Linked DNA regions of Homo sapiens: region 2 is linked to region 1. Evidence: promoter capture Hi-C in 16 types of primary human blood cells and fetal thymus (Javierre and others, 2016). All regions are on one chromosome and are shown on one strand. The core of a region is centred on a gene start or on the middle of the fragment in contact, and the rest is flanking DNA. Distances in the headings are between cores, read along the strand shown. Region 1 holds the start of PCLAF (PCNA clamp associated factor). Region 2 overlaps CSNK1G1 (casein kinase 1 gamma 1).

The links. The method cuts DNA at HindIII sites, captures the fragments that hold promoters and counts their contacts. A CHiCAGO score of 5 or more calls a contact.
Region 2: a fragment that was not itself captured here is called in contact with the fragment with the promoter of PCLAF in region 1 in 1 of 17 cell types (erythroblasts); the score reaches 6.0 in erythroblasts.

Annotation. Positions count from the first base shown.
Region 1 is chr15:64,375,517-64,383,316 of GRCh38, reverse strand. It overlaps PCLAF (PCNA clamp associated factor), which reads left to right and starts at 1,876. Exons shown (of 4, transcript NM_014736.6): 1 at 1,876-1,991; 2 at 2,279-2,359; 3 at 6,412-6,574. The coding sequence starts at 1,946. RefSeq lists an enhancer at 1,705-2,215. The HindIII fragment of the contact is 13,260 bases long and covers 1-7,800 here.
Region 2 is chr15:64,164,466-64,171,379 of GRCh38, reverse strand. It overlaps CSNK1G1 (casein kinase 1 gamma 1), which reads left to right. Exons shown (of 12, transcript NM_022048.5): 12 at 1-5,855. Among named protein-coding and RNA genes, the nearest start is that of PPIB, 4.9 kb to the right of the region's middle. The HindIII fragment of the contact is 7,083 bases long and covers 876-6,914 here.

The sequences.
Region 1 (7,800 bases), core at 627-3,126:
AGGAATGCCCTGGGTCTTGTGGATTTTTCCGGTTGATTTGGCTGTAACCTTAGATACCAAGGTTAAGACAAAACTACAGGTAATTGCCAATACATTTTCTATTATTGTGTTAATTTAACCTGTTGCCTAGATTCCTTAAATCTGTGTTACAGAGTGCAGTTGTTGATTCTGTTAAAGTACTGAGTAGCCTAATTCTAAGTTCGAGCAATTCATTGGAGAGAATTAATGCTGTGTTTACACTTCTAGAGTAGCCTTTCAAGTGAGCATTTAACAGAATACATCCCAAAGCAAGTTCATCTGATCCTGTTTTTTGTTGTTGTTTTTAGAGACGGAGACTCGCCCTGTCGCCCAGGCTGGAGTGCAGTAGCGTGATCTCGGCTCACTGCAACCTCCGCCTCCCGGGTTCAAGGAATTCTCCTGCCTCAGCCTCCAGAGTAGCTGGGACTACAGGCACATGCCGCCACTCCCAGCTAATTTTTTATTTTTTATTTTTATTTTTATTTTAGTAGAGACTGGGTTTCACCATGTTGCCCACGCTGGTCTCGAACTCCTGAGCTCAGGCAATCTGCCTGCCTCGGCCTCCCAAAGTGCTAGGATTACAGGTGTGAGCCACCATGCCTGACCGATTCTGTTTTATGTATGGTATTTAGAGAGTGAAAATCACTCCCCAGGGGTGTTGTGAGTAATTAGAAGGTAAGCATAAAGATAGAAAAAAATTATGACCCTTTATCCTAGAGTTATGCTCACTGTGTGACAGCGATGTGGTCTTACCACATTTGGCAGGGTCTTTTCGTTTCGTTTCGTTTCATTTCATTTCCTTGCCTTGCCTTGCCTTTCTTTTCTTTTTTCTTTTCTTTTCTTTCTTTCTTTTCTTTTCTTTCTTTCTTTCTTTTTTTTTTTTGAGACAGGATCTCGCTCTGTCGCCCAGGCTGGAGTGCATGGTGTGATTATGGCTCACTGCAACCTCTCCCTCCTAGGCACAAGCAATCTCCCGTCTCCTGAACTCAAGCCATCCTCCCACCTCAGCCTCCCGAGTAGTTGGGATTACAGGAACATGCCACTGCACCCGGCTAATTTTTGTATATTTTTTGTAGAGACGGGTTTCACCGTGTTGGTCAGGCTGGTCTCGACCTCCTGGGGTCAAGCGATCTGCCCGCCTCGGCCTCTCAAAGTGCTGGGATTACAGCCATGAGTCCCCGCTCCTGGCAGATTTGGCAGATTATTTAGGAGCTCTGACACCATTCGGTTCTCAAGAAGACGTTTTATTAGTTTCTTTTTATGTGTGTATGTATATACAATCCCCCTAGTTTTTGTTTAGTCTCACATCATCCTAAAGACATTTAAAAAAACCCTTGTAAACAAGTTGTATTAGCTTCCTTTTCCCCATTCCATAGAATTGTTTTAGTATGGATGCTGTACAAAGAGTTCATGCCTGGGGGACTAAAGGAAAGTTCTCAAGTTCTTTTAATTTTGATTTGCATCAAAAAGTCCGCTTAATTTCAGGTTTCACCTCCAGGAGTCAATCATTATGGACTTAAAGCTATAGTAACTTTTGAAGATCGTTTGTAATTCGCTGTCTTTGCTAGGTTTTCTTTTCTAAGCAGGCTCATTTCTGTAGTTCAGAAACTTAGCACCCACTAGTCGGGTACCCCTGGAGAGTCCTGGTACCGCCCACCTGGGGCGCCTACGAATCCTAGGCCTTTGCGTGTTGATGGACGGATTCGCGCTGCAAGAAGCCTCGCCGCTGTCACCACTGGGCATTGGCAATTGGTTCAGGGGGAACGGCGCGGAACCAATGGGAGCGGTGGCTCGGGAGAGACCTTGGAGCGCGCGGGAAAGAGACCAATATAAACTGTGGCGGGATAGTTTTCGGGTCCTTGTCCAGTGAAACACCCTCGGCTGGGAAGTCAGTTCGTTCTCTCCTCTCCTCTCTTCTTGTTTGAACATGGTGCGGACTAAAGCAGACAGTGTTCCAGGCACTTACAGAAAAGGTGAGGCGATCGAGTGTGGTACTGGAGGGCGGGGGGGTCCTCCCGGCAGCCTGGCCACGGGCGACAGACGCCAGAGGTCCCCCTGGGCCCTGTGCGCCAAACTCATCTAGCTAGCCAGGGAGTAGCCGCCTGGCCCCTTTACCTAGAAGAGGAAGTCGCAGGGGCAGGGTAAGGTTATCCTGCTGTTCTGGATCGCCAGGCTCTCCTCTCCAAGCTGCTGGGGTCCAGGACTCGGTGTCGGAACCCTCCTGCCCCTTCTGAACACCCTTTTTTGCCTCTCTTCACAGTGGTGGCTGCTCGAGCCCCCAGAAAGGTGCTTGGTTCTTCCACCTCTGCCACTAATTCGACATCAGTTTCATCGAGGAAAGGTAAGAAGAGCCCTCCTAAAGTTAGGGGATCAGTCCTGGCACCTGCAAGCCCCTGGCTTGCCATGAATTTCTTTTTCTTGAGGTACTCACGCCCGAATTTCTTCCTTGCCCTGTGATATAATAAGAGAGGCTGGGCCTTTTGGCCGGCTAGGGTAGAGGTGGGGGGGAGGTCTCATGGAAGGGAATTTCAAGCCTTGGAGTTAAGGACCGACACACCTTATCTTCAAGCCTATTTTTCTTTTCTTTTCTTTTTTTAGACAGGGCCTCTCTTTGTTGCTCAGGTTGGAGTGCAGTGGTGCAATCACTGGTCACTACATCCTCCACTTATGGGGCTTAAGCAATCCTCCCACCTCAGCCTCCAAAGTAGCTGGGGCTACAGGTACATGCCACCACGCCGGGCTTTTTTTTCTATTTTTTGTAGAGATGGGGGTCTCACTATGTTGCCTAAGCTGGTCTCAAACTCCTGGGCTCAAACAATCCTCCTACTGGGATTACAGGCATGAGCCACCACAGCCAGCCTATCAATTTTTGTTTTTTGGTTTAGTATTTTCCTTTTTCTTTCTCTTTCTTTTTTTGAGACAGAGTCTTGCACTGTTGCCCAGGCTGCAGTGCAACGGTGTGATCTTGGTTCACTGCAACCTCCGCCTCTCGGGTTCACACGATTCTCCTGCCTCTGCCTCCTGAGTAGCTGGGATTACAGGTGCACGCCACCACACCCAGCTAATTTTTTTGTATTTTTAGTAGAGATGGGGTTTCACTATGTTGGCCAGACTGATCTCAAACTCCTGACCTCATGATCTGCCTGCCTCAGCTTCCCAAAGTGATGGGAACACAGACGTGATCCACCACGCCCAGCTATTATTTTTCTTAATAATAACAGAGGCTATTTAAATATTGTTAGAGGCTATTTAAAAGCCCCCTTAGTAGATTAAGGGTTTGAACAATCGTTAACAGTGCTGAGTGCTCATTGCAATGTCTACTAAACTTTAATAAAAATGTTTTTGTTTTTGTTTGCTTGTTTTTCCTTTCTTCCTTACTCTTTTTTGTTTGTTTGTTTGTTTGAGTATGATGTCTGTGGGTTTTCTCCAACTTTGCAGCTCCTAATACTGTCTTTGGGAGAGTAGGAGTGAAACCCGGCAAAGGAAATAGCTTCACGCTGCTCCTTCTGTGCGTGGAGTAGATGAGAAAATGCCCTGCCATCTGGTGCCTCATTCCTTTCAGTAGGAAATTTGGCAGACAGGGAGATTAACGCTACAAGATTTAATTAAGAACATAAAGGTGAACACTGTTTAGGACTTCATGGGTTTTAAAGTCAATTCAAATTTCTCCCTATTATAAACATTTCATTAGAAAACATTTACTATTTCTATCTCTTCAGATAAAAGGAAATAGAAGTTGATGAATTTTTTTAGAGTAACTTATACCCTGTACCACTAGACTAAGTTTCTTTTTCTTTTCTTTTTTCTTTTTTTTTTTTGAGACAGGGTCTCACTCTGTTGCCCAGGCTTGAGTGCAGTGGTGCAATCACAGCTTACTGCAGATTTGACCCCAGGGTTCAAATGATCCTCCCACTTCAGGCTCTTCCCAAGTAGCTGGGACTGTAGGCGCATGCCACCACACGCCCGCCTAATTTTTGTGTTTTTTGTAGAGATGGGGTTTCATCACATTGCCCAGGCTGGTCTCGAACTCCTGGGCTGAAGCAATCCTCCCGCCTCAGCCTACCAAAGTGCTGGGATTACAGACGTGAGCCACCACGCCTGGCCTGATGAAATTTCATTAGAGCCGCATCTCATCGTCTGGTCCACTGTTGAATCACCAGAGCCAACTAAATAGGCCCTTACTGAATATATGTTGAATAAATGCATCCTTTAAGGCATTTTAAAAATCTCTATTTTTAATCCGAATAATTGGATGTATGAAATGGGTAATATCCTTATTTTAAAGATAAGGAAATTTAATATCTGGTTATATAACTTGATAAAGGTCACACAACTAAATCAGTGGAGTTGGGTTTGAACCTGTTGCTGCTATATTTTTTTTTTTTTCTGAGACACAGTCTCGCTCTGTCACCCAGGCTGGAGTGCAGTGGCATGAACTCGGCTCACTGCAACCTCCGCCTCCCGGGTTCAAGCAATTCTTCTGCCTCAGCCTCCTAAGTAGCTGGGATTACAGGCATGCGCCACCATGCCTGGCTAAATTTTGTATCTTTAGTGGAGGCAGGGTTTCACCATGTTGGCCAGGCTGTTCTCAAATGCCTGACCTCATGATCCAACTGCCTCGGCCTCACAAAGTGCTGGGATTACAGGCGTGAGCCACTGCGCCCAGCTGCTGCTGTATGTTTTCTAGTAGTAAAAGCATTCCTGTAAGGTTCCTTTGGGAAAACTGTGAACCAAAAGATCACTATCTTTTATATGCCATTCCTTCTTTTGGAGGCGAAGGCGGGACGGTTGCCTCAGCCAGGAGTTTGAGACCAGCCTGGACAACGTGGCAAAACCCCATTGCTATTTTTATAAATGTAAATAAATAAGTAGAAACAATATAACTTCAGAGTCTATATGGAAACAACTTTTGTAAGCATTCTTTAACAACTAGAGTTGTTAAAGCAAATGTTTTAGCTTAAAGCAAAAGATTTGCAGTAACTGAATAATTTGTTCCTGGTCATTACTTTATAAAAAGGCAAGAATTTTCCCTCAATTTCTCCTTATATTACTGTTGAAAAATAACCAGGAATTGGCCGGGCAGGGTGGCTCACACTTGTAATCCCAGCACTTTGGGAGGCCAAGGCGGGCGGATCATGAGGTCAGGAGATCGAGACCATCCTAGCATGGTGAAACCCTGTCTCTACTAAAAGTACAAAAAATTAGCCAGGTGTGGTGGCGGGCGCCTGTAGTCCCAACTGCTCGGGAGGCTGAGGCAGGAGAATGGCATGAACCCGGGAGGCGGAGCTTGCAGTGAGCCAAGATCGTGCCACTGCACTGCAGCCTGGGTGACAGAGTGAGACTCTGTCTCCCCCCCAAAAAAACAAAAACAAAACAAAAATTAGCTGGGCGTGGTGGCGGGCGCCTGTAATCCCTGCTACTCGGGAGGCTGAGGCAGGAGAATCACTTGAATCCGGGAGGCAGAGGTTACAGTAAGCCAAGATTGCGCCACTGCACTCCAGCCTGGGTGACAGAGCTAGACTTTGAAAAAAAAAAAAAAAAAAAAAAAAAACACCAGGAATTGGACTTCTCTTATGAACTGAAAAGGAGCCAGGTGCTTTGAAAAATGGAATCTACTTTTGTGGAGACTTTCACATTGCCTCTTATATGTGCTTTAACTAAATGACCTTAGTAAGTAAAATGTTGGCACTTTATACTACATGGTCCTATCTTATGTTAGGAAAAAGTGTGTCAAACTTCAGTATGTCAGTACATACAAGAATATATATATATATATATATATATATATATATATATATATATATATATATTTTTTTTTTTTTTTTTTTGAGACAGAGTCTCGCTCTGTTGCCAGACTGGAGTGTGCAGTGGCGGCGCAATCTTGGCTCACTGCAACCTCCGACTCGCTGGTTCAAGTGATTCTCCTGCCTCAGCCTCCCAAGTAGCTGGGAATACAGGCACGTGCCGCCACACCCAGCTAATTTTTGTATTTTTAGTAGAGACGGGGGTTTCACCATGTTGTCCAGGTTGGTCTCGAACTCCTGACCTTGTGATCCACCCTCCTCAGCCTCCCAAAGTGCTGGGATTACAGGCGTGAGCCACTGGACCCGGCAAGAGTATTTGAATAGCTCTGCTTGTGGACAAAATATAAAAATATTTTTCAGTTGTAAAAATTCTGTTACTACTGTTATTGCTAAGATAACCATCACACTGAGTTTATTGGTGGAATACAGCTTTATTGTGTCACATTTTCTAATTCTTTAAGTTGTATATCTTAAATAAAGATTATTTAATACCTTTGAGAATTTGATGTTAAAGAAGGAATTAAGTTGTTTAAGGAATAGAGATTGTATTATTAGCACTTATCTAGTTCCATCTGTTTATATTTTACAGCTGAAAATAAATATGCAGGAGGGAACCCCGTTTGCGTGCGCCCAACTCCCAAGTGGCAAAAAGGAATTGGAGAATTCTTTAGGTTGTCCCCTAAAGATTCTGAAAAAGAGAATCAGATTCCTGAAGAGGCAGGAAGCAGTGGCTTAGGAAAAGCAAAGAGAAAGTAAGTTTTTATATTCTGGAATATAAAGAAAATATTTATCTCACGCCTGTAATCCCAGCACTTTGGGAGGCCGAGGCGGGAGGATCACTTGAGGCCAGGAGTTCAAAACCAGCCTGTCCAACATGGTGGAACCCTGTCTCTACTAAAAATACAAAATTAGCTCGGCGTGCTGGTGCACACCTGTTGTCCTAGCTATTTGGGAGGCTCAAACAAAAGAATTGCTTGGTGCAGCAAACCACCATGCACACATATACCTATATAACAAACTTGCATGTAATGCACATGTATCTCATTTTCACGCCACTGCCCTCCAGTCTGGGGGACAGAGTGAGACTCTGTCTCAAATAAAAAATTAATTAATTAATTAATAAAGAAAATATCTTGAAAATAAAGGACAAATAGGATATTGAGTCAAGTTTCTCTTCAAGCTCATAAGAAAATGCAAAAAAAGTTTTTAAAAACTTCTTCTAATTTCTTATTATAACTCACTCCCAAATTTCTTTTCTTTTTTTTTTCCTGAGACGGAGTCTTGCTCTGTTGCCCAGGCTAGAGGGCAGTGGCGCTATCTCAGCTCACTGCAACCTCCGCCTCCCAGGTTCAAGCAATTTTCCTGCCTCAGCCTCCCAAGTAGCTGGGATTACAGGCACACGCCACCACGCCCAGCTAATTTTTGTATTTTTAGTAGAGACAGGGTTTTGCCTTGTTGGCCAGGCTGGTCTTGAACTCTTGACTTTGTGATCTACCCACCTTAGCCTCCCAAAGTACTGGGATTACAGGCGTGAGCCACTGCATCCAGCCAGCAAATTTCAAACATTAGTAAAAAGTATTCTTTTTACTCTTCCCAATCTCTCAAAGAGGATCAGTTCCCATTCACATAAGTGCTATGTCATTAACCATGAACTTAGTGTATTGAGTCTTTAATTCTTACTGTCTTTTTCCTTTAGGCTTTTCTTACAAGGCAATTTCCTTGTTGGCTTATATAACTTGAATTCCATTAATCCTGTCCCTTAAAAAACTACCAGTTCAACTTGCACAAGAAATATATAACCAGGCTGTGTGCGGTGGCTCATGCCTGTAATCCTAGCACTTTGGGAGGCTACAGTGGGCAGATCGCTTGAGCTCAGGAGTTCCAGACCAGCCTGGGCAACATGGTGAAACCCCTTCTCTACCAAAAGGGTGGCGGCGCCGCCTATAATCCCAGCCACTAGGGAGGCTGAGGTGGGAGA
Region 2 (6,914 bases), core at 3,168-5,667, 210 kb after region 1:
TCCCAGCTGGCCTTGGGGTTCAGGTTCCTTCTTCCCTCCCTCCTGTGAAGTTACACTGTAGGACACAAGCTGTGAGCAATCTGCAGTCTACTGTCCCTGTGTGTTGGCGTTCTTAGCTTTTTTGACAAACTCTTTTCTCCAGGTAGTAGGACAATGAAAATTGTTCTAAGCAAAGGAAAGAAAACTGACTTTGTTGCACTTTTAGTTTTTTTAAAAAAAACAAAAACAAAAACATGGCAGATGCATATTGTGTCTGGTTATATTGGGGGTTTTACTTTTACCTGTTTTGAGGGGGATGGGGCCGGCCAAGCCATTCAGAGAGAACATGGGTCCAGAGGACATTCTCAGTGGAAAGAGTTTGATCTGCAGCACCCAGAAGAGAAGCCAAACTCGGTGTCATTCTGAGTGAACACTCAGGTTGGCAAGAAAACATACTTGAATTTTCATTCATCTTCTCAGCAGCTGAAGAATGTCCCTACCAGAGCATCTTGACCTAATCAGCTTACAGTTTGAAAACCTAGCTCTCCAGAACATGAGATGAGCCAGCCGAGCCAGACTGTGACCAGGAAACAGCTCATCCCAGAGAAGGAGATGCTTAACAAAAAAAAATTGAAATTGTTTCCCATGCTGCCAGGGACTTCCAACTAGATAGCCATGTGACGTCCTGGTGACTTGGGGGAAAAATTAGTGATGAAACAGCCACCACCATATTGCCATTAGTGGAAAAAAAGAGGACAGTGAACCTGCCTTCCACCTGCCAGAGGGACCTCAGGGTGTGGCATTATAGGGCCAGGAAAAGAAAATCGGTGTATCCTATCTGCCCCAATAGCTGAGCTGTAGCATTTGGGCTGGCCTGCCTTATCAGAAACCAAGCTTATGAAGATCTTCTCCCAGCAGGTCCATAGCAGTAGGCTTAGGATGCAGTATATGGGGCCGCATTTAAAAGGAGGGAAAGATTGTTTGGTGCTGGAACATTCCAGGGAAAAGGAGACTGGAATGAAAGGTCTGAAATTATCTTCTCAATTGGACTCCTTCCAGAAAGGTGGCCGTGCCTCTAAGCATGTTTTTCCCAGTATGCCCTAGGCCTCCCCCCATGGTGTTTTCATATGAGGTACTACTGTGAAGGATCTGGTTCCTCATTCACTGTTTGACAAGTCTTTCATGTGTGGAGTTACTCTTCTCATGCCCAATTTTCATTTGAGTTTAGTGGCTTAACCAAACAATGACTCCTCATTCCAGCGGTGACAGAAGAGAAAGGGTCATTTACATCAGGAAAGAGGTCTTGTATCTGGGAGTAGAGAGCTAACCATGGAGCACAGTGGCTGGTGGGTGACTTAGTCTGATGGTTTGTGGACCATAGAAGTCTTCACCTCTGGTTTGAGGTGCAGGGCTGTCTTTTGTACTGGAGGGTGTGGGGATATTTTCTGATAGTTGCCATTTCTTGAAAAATTCCCTTGATGTACCTTACACAGAGCAGAAATAACATTAACATGGATCAGAGGTACTGGGCTTCATCTGTTCCATTGGACCTTGGCTAGGGAATATCATTTCACTGGCATCAAACCTGCTTAGCTTATGAAAAGATGGTAATATGTCATTTCTATAAATGTTTCTATATATGAAACATAAAGTGGCAGGGAGATACAATATCACACCCCTTCCCCACAAGGACTGTGAATATTGGGATTTATGTCCTTGCCATTACCTAGTGGTTACAGCCCTATCACTAAAATTTACATCGTTTCTCAGTTGGGATTTGGGCATTGCTAACTTACTGTATAGAAAGTTTAACTTTTCCTCACCCCTGTATAGAAAATGCCTTGCCTCTCAAGAGAGGGCAGAGGGGGGGCCAGGTGCAGTGGCTCACGCCTGTAATCCCAGCAGTTTGGGAGGCCAAGGCAAGTGGATCATGTGAGGTCAAGAGTTCGAGACCAGCCTGGCCAACATGGTGAAACCCCGTCTCTACAAAAAATACAAAAATTAGCTGGGCATGGTGGCATGCTCCCGTAGTCCCAGCTACTCGGGAGGCTGAGGCAGGAGAATCACTTGAGCCTGGGAGGCAGAAGTTGCAGTGAGCCGAGATCGCACCACTGCACTCCAGCCTGGGCAACAGAGTGAGACTCTGTCTAAAAAGAAAAAAAAAAAAGGGCAGAGGGAAATGGTGGGAATGCCTGGAGCATCCTGGCACTCTATACTCTACTGAGTGCCTCTCTTCAGCCCCTCACCCTGCTTCCACACACACACACACAAAAGCAAAGGCACTGACCAGCTTGGCTGCAGGGCAAGCTGCCTTGCAGCTGGATTTGCGACTTTTTTTTTGTCTTAAAATTTTTACTGGATCAGTTGTAGGGGACTGTACTTCCTAAGACACTGTTCTCACCTTCCAACCTCACAAATCTCTTACTAGATATTTGGTTTTTATAACAAGGGTAAAGAATCCCAGGTCCCTTTAGCATGCAGAGTAATGGTGATCCCTCCAGAGCCATTGGCACTTCAAAGTGGTCCCAGACCTGGGAGATTCTGGTGGGATCTTCCTTAAAAATAAGCAAAAAACCTGAGTACCCTAGATGCAATTGGCCATTTGTTTCAGGCCCATCAGCGAATCAGGGCTCCCTCCTCAACCCTACTGCTACAGTTCCTTAGCTGTATGCCTCAGCCAGATCCTTGGGGTTAGGGCATGCACTCGCTGACTGTCCCCACCCATCCACTTGCTCTGTAGTTTCTGAGCTTTCTCCATTTCACAAGTATGGTGCCTAACGATCTTTTTCTTTAGGATTGATGCAGTTGTTTTTCCTGAAAGCTAACTCAGCATCTATTCATAAAAACCCTTAATAGTATACATTAGGAGTTTTCCCAAGCTCTACAGTCCCTCAGACATTGCATCCTAAACAGATTTGAGGCACACAGGCCAAGACTCCACCAAGGCATAAATGGTCCCCCCTACTCCCTTTTGACCAGGGTATCACTTGTGTCTCTGCAGTAAGAGTTGGTCAAGTTGCTCTACGCACCTTGGTGCTTTCCAGAGATCTCACTCCAGACTGCCCCCAAGGGTGGATAGAGTATCCTGACAGCCAGTGTGCACTCATGACTGCCTTAATTAACATTCTTCTGCTATTATGGAGCCTGTCCAGCAATAAACAGGGTCTAGGAAGGTACAAGATTAGCTTCCAGTTAAAATCCCATTTTATATTGGAATGCATGAGCTACAGATGACAGCAGAGATCCTGAGGTTTCTAGACATGTTGATTGTCTCTTTTTTCTAAATGAACTCCAAGTACTTAGAAAACAGTCCCTGTCCATCAGCCAGAAAAGGTGACCATCACCCCTAAAGTAATTTCCAAACTTAGTTCAGTGGGAAGATATGCTGGTAGTGCATATTCAGTGTTGATTTTCAGTGCTAGTAACCACTTTTAATGCCAGAAATATGTAACAATGATAATGTAACGTCAAAGTGGTTACTAAAGATTATAGCCTTAACTTTTTTATGTAAAAGATAAAATCCATTCCTCCTCCCAGTGAGCAAGCATGGCTTGCATTTCTCAAAAATGAGAACTTCCATGGCAGCCAAGAAAACGTCTTCTCAGAGGAACTTTCGTTTGATGCATCTCCCAAGCCCACATGCCTCCTGTGTTCCAGCCACCTCTTCCATTTCACATTTAAACCAGCTCTCCATTCCCATTGAGTTGCCCTAACAACATTGTCTCCAGTGTCAGAACCATATTAAGGTTCGTTTCTCAGATTGGGAGCCTGCAACACCATACAGCCAACATTGCCTTTGCCACGCCACTGCCACCATCCCCACCATTGCCCTATGGTGGGCAGATGAATTCCAGAAACCCTCAGGGAGCCAGGATAATTAGGCAACCCATCTGAATTGGCCACGTAAGTGACAGGCACTTATCTCTCGGGTTCTTGCTTTTGCAGACTCCAGGGAAGTCCTGTCTAGAGGTCGATGGCAGAGACTCCTAGTCTTTCCCATGAGGGGTTGATAGGAATCAAATTGGGATTCCTTTGGCTTTGGGTTTTGTTTTTTTGTTGTTGTTTTTGGTTTTCAGTTTGTTTTTTGGTGTATGGGGGGTGATTTTGTTTCTGAATAAGAAAAAGAAGAGGCAACCATGGCCCTTATGTGGGTTTATCCTTTTTGAGCAATGTTTTAGCCACAAGTAAGGAATCTTGAAAGTCTTTTGTCCAGCAAGCAGTCTTAAAAATGTTTTTCCTAACTCCTTTTGCAGGTGACTAAGTACAAAAAAATAGTTTTCTCATTGTATTCAAAATAGTGAGTAGGTTCCCTGGATAATACACAGTGGTAGTTGACATATTTTCTCAAAACACAACCAGAAAACCCACTTCCGGTATTTGTAAATCACCTTTCAAGGGAAAAAGTGAACACGTATTCCTTGTATTTCTAGTTTGATTACCAAACCTGATGTTACAAAGAAACCTCCGTTCTGTAGACAGAATTTCTTTTATTTTTCTTCTTTTACTCCTCACAATCACTTTCCCAGTGCCATCACCATCTATAAGGTCTCAGAGCAGAGGATTATTCATGGTAATAAGTGGGGGTGTGGTGCAGCCATTCCAGTAACACCCACAAGAGGACAGCTGTTCTGAATGTCCCCACCCACCCCTCTTTCAGTACAGGTGAGACATTTTCAGTTCATGAGCTCCAGACCAAATCCCAGGCCAGCCCTTGCACCAAAAGCCTTTTTTAGAAGGCTTATCAGTCTATTAGGAATGTCTCAGGAAAGATGAGCCATTTCTTTGGGGAGAAATATATTTACAGATGGAAGTGTGTGACTGCGTGTCTGTGTGTGTGTGTGGTGTGTGTGCGCACGTGAGTGCGTGTGTTCATCTATGTGCATTTCACTTCCATAAAGACCCAGCCCAAGCTGCTGGGAACCATGTGTTCCTGAGTATTCTCAGAGGTTAAACAAGTGACAAGTGAGCTTCTGAAATTAGTGTCTCAGCAAGCTGGCTTTAGGAATGAGCCCCATTTTATCAAGCAGAGAAAAAAAATAACAGCAGAAAAGATAAAGATAAACCAAAAATATATACCCCCCAATGGAAAATAATGTTGATTCAGCAATTCCCATAGGATGTATTACATGCTCTAATTTATTATATTATTATTTATCTGTCTTTGATCTTTGCCCATTGTACTCTTAAAAAGATGTTGGGATGTTGATTGCGATTTTTAAACAACTAGATAATGTATAAATCAGCAGTGGAAATCAGTTTTAATGTGTGGATGTGTCTGATTATTGTTAAATGCCTCTTTTTTTACTTTTTTTTTTTTTAGATGTATAATGTTTCATAAACCCTGGCACTGGTCACAAAGCTCAGCTGTGAAAATGAAATTTGTAGTATTTTTAAACATGAATGTCAATTTCAAGTGTATTTGAAATGGTTCCTCCAGGAGAGATATTTGTGCACCATTAGGAAAATCTTCTCTGCAGAGGAAGTAGCCTTCTTTGGAGAAAATGGAAAATGGGTTCTGATATGTGATCTCAGAGTAGCCCATTTCCTAGGGCACCATGGAAAACACAAATGTGATCTTTAAGTATACCTCTTCCCCAGTTTGGGGAGGAAAGGACTCAGTTTGCACCCTTTTTGTATGTAAAATAAAATGTCTTACCTTTCTTGGCTACTTCTGCTTGTTTGGTTGGTTGATTGGTTTGTCTGTTTTTAATCTCCCTCGGCTCATTTGTAATTAACAATCTAGCTAGGACTAACTTTGATGCGATTCAAGACTCCTGTGAACAAAAATAATTTGGCATTCTTGTTTCATTCCTTGGATTAAATATTGTCTTCTCCTGTGAGTCACTTCAAAAATAAATACTGCTGTCTCTCTTCGAGTGCTGAAGAAGAAAATTATTTTTTAATTAAAAAAATAAATATTGGCCAGGCGCAGTGGCTCTCACCTGTAATCCCAGCAACTCCGGGAGGCCAAGGCGGGTGGATCATTTGAGGTCAGGAGTTCGAGGCCAGCCTGGCCAACATGGTGAAACCCTGTCACTACTAAAAATACAAAATTAGTTGGGCGTGGTGGTGCACACCTGTAATCCCAGCTACTCAGGAGGCTGAGGCAGGCCAATTGCTTGAATCCAGGAGGTGGAGTTTGCAATGAGCCAAGATCGCACCACTGTACTCCAGCATGGACGTCAGAGCAAGACTCCGTCTCAAATAAATAAATATTCCTGGAAGAATTTGGACATTATCACTCATACGTTAGTTCCTGGGTCCCTGTTGTTCTCAGGTGGTAGAACACAGGAAATCAGGATCTGCTCTGTGGAACAACTTTAGTAGCTTTATAATTCTCCTCTACAAATGCGGAATATGTGTCCAGACAGAAGATAGAACTATGATGAGCAATGTAAAACCATACTGCATATGTAGCCAACAGAACAACTGTCAATCTGGGCATGATTGACTCCTTCCAGTTTGTTACTACTCTTTAATTACTTTTTCACAGGCAGGTAGCAGTGGAAGAATCATGAGAGAAAAGTTTCACATTGAGAGCATTTTATCCATCAACCTGATTTCTTTTGAAAGTGGGAGTGGGAGAAAGGCTGCTGTGATGCCATTTTAGCCTTAGCTCCTCATGTGCAGGAGGCTACTTGGGTTTTTTGAGTGTTTCTTTGTTTTTGAGACAGGGTGGAGTGCAGTTTCACGATCACAGTACACTGCAGCCTTGACCTTCTGGGCTCAGGTGATTCCCCCACCTCAGCCTCTGGGGTAGCTGCGACTACAGATGCGCACCACCACGCCCTGCTAATTTTTGTATTTTTTGTAGAGACAGGTTTCACCATGTTGCCCAGGCTCAAACTCCTGGACTCAAGTCATCTGCCTGCCACAGCCTCTCAAAGTGCTGGGATTACAGGTATGAGCTACTGTGCCCAGCTGGAGGCTACTTT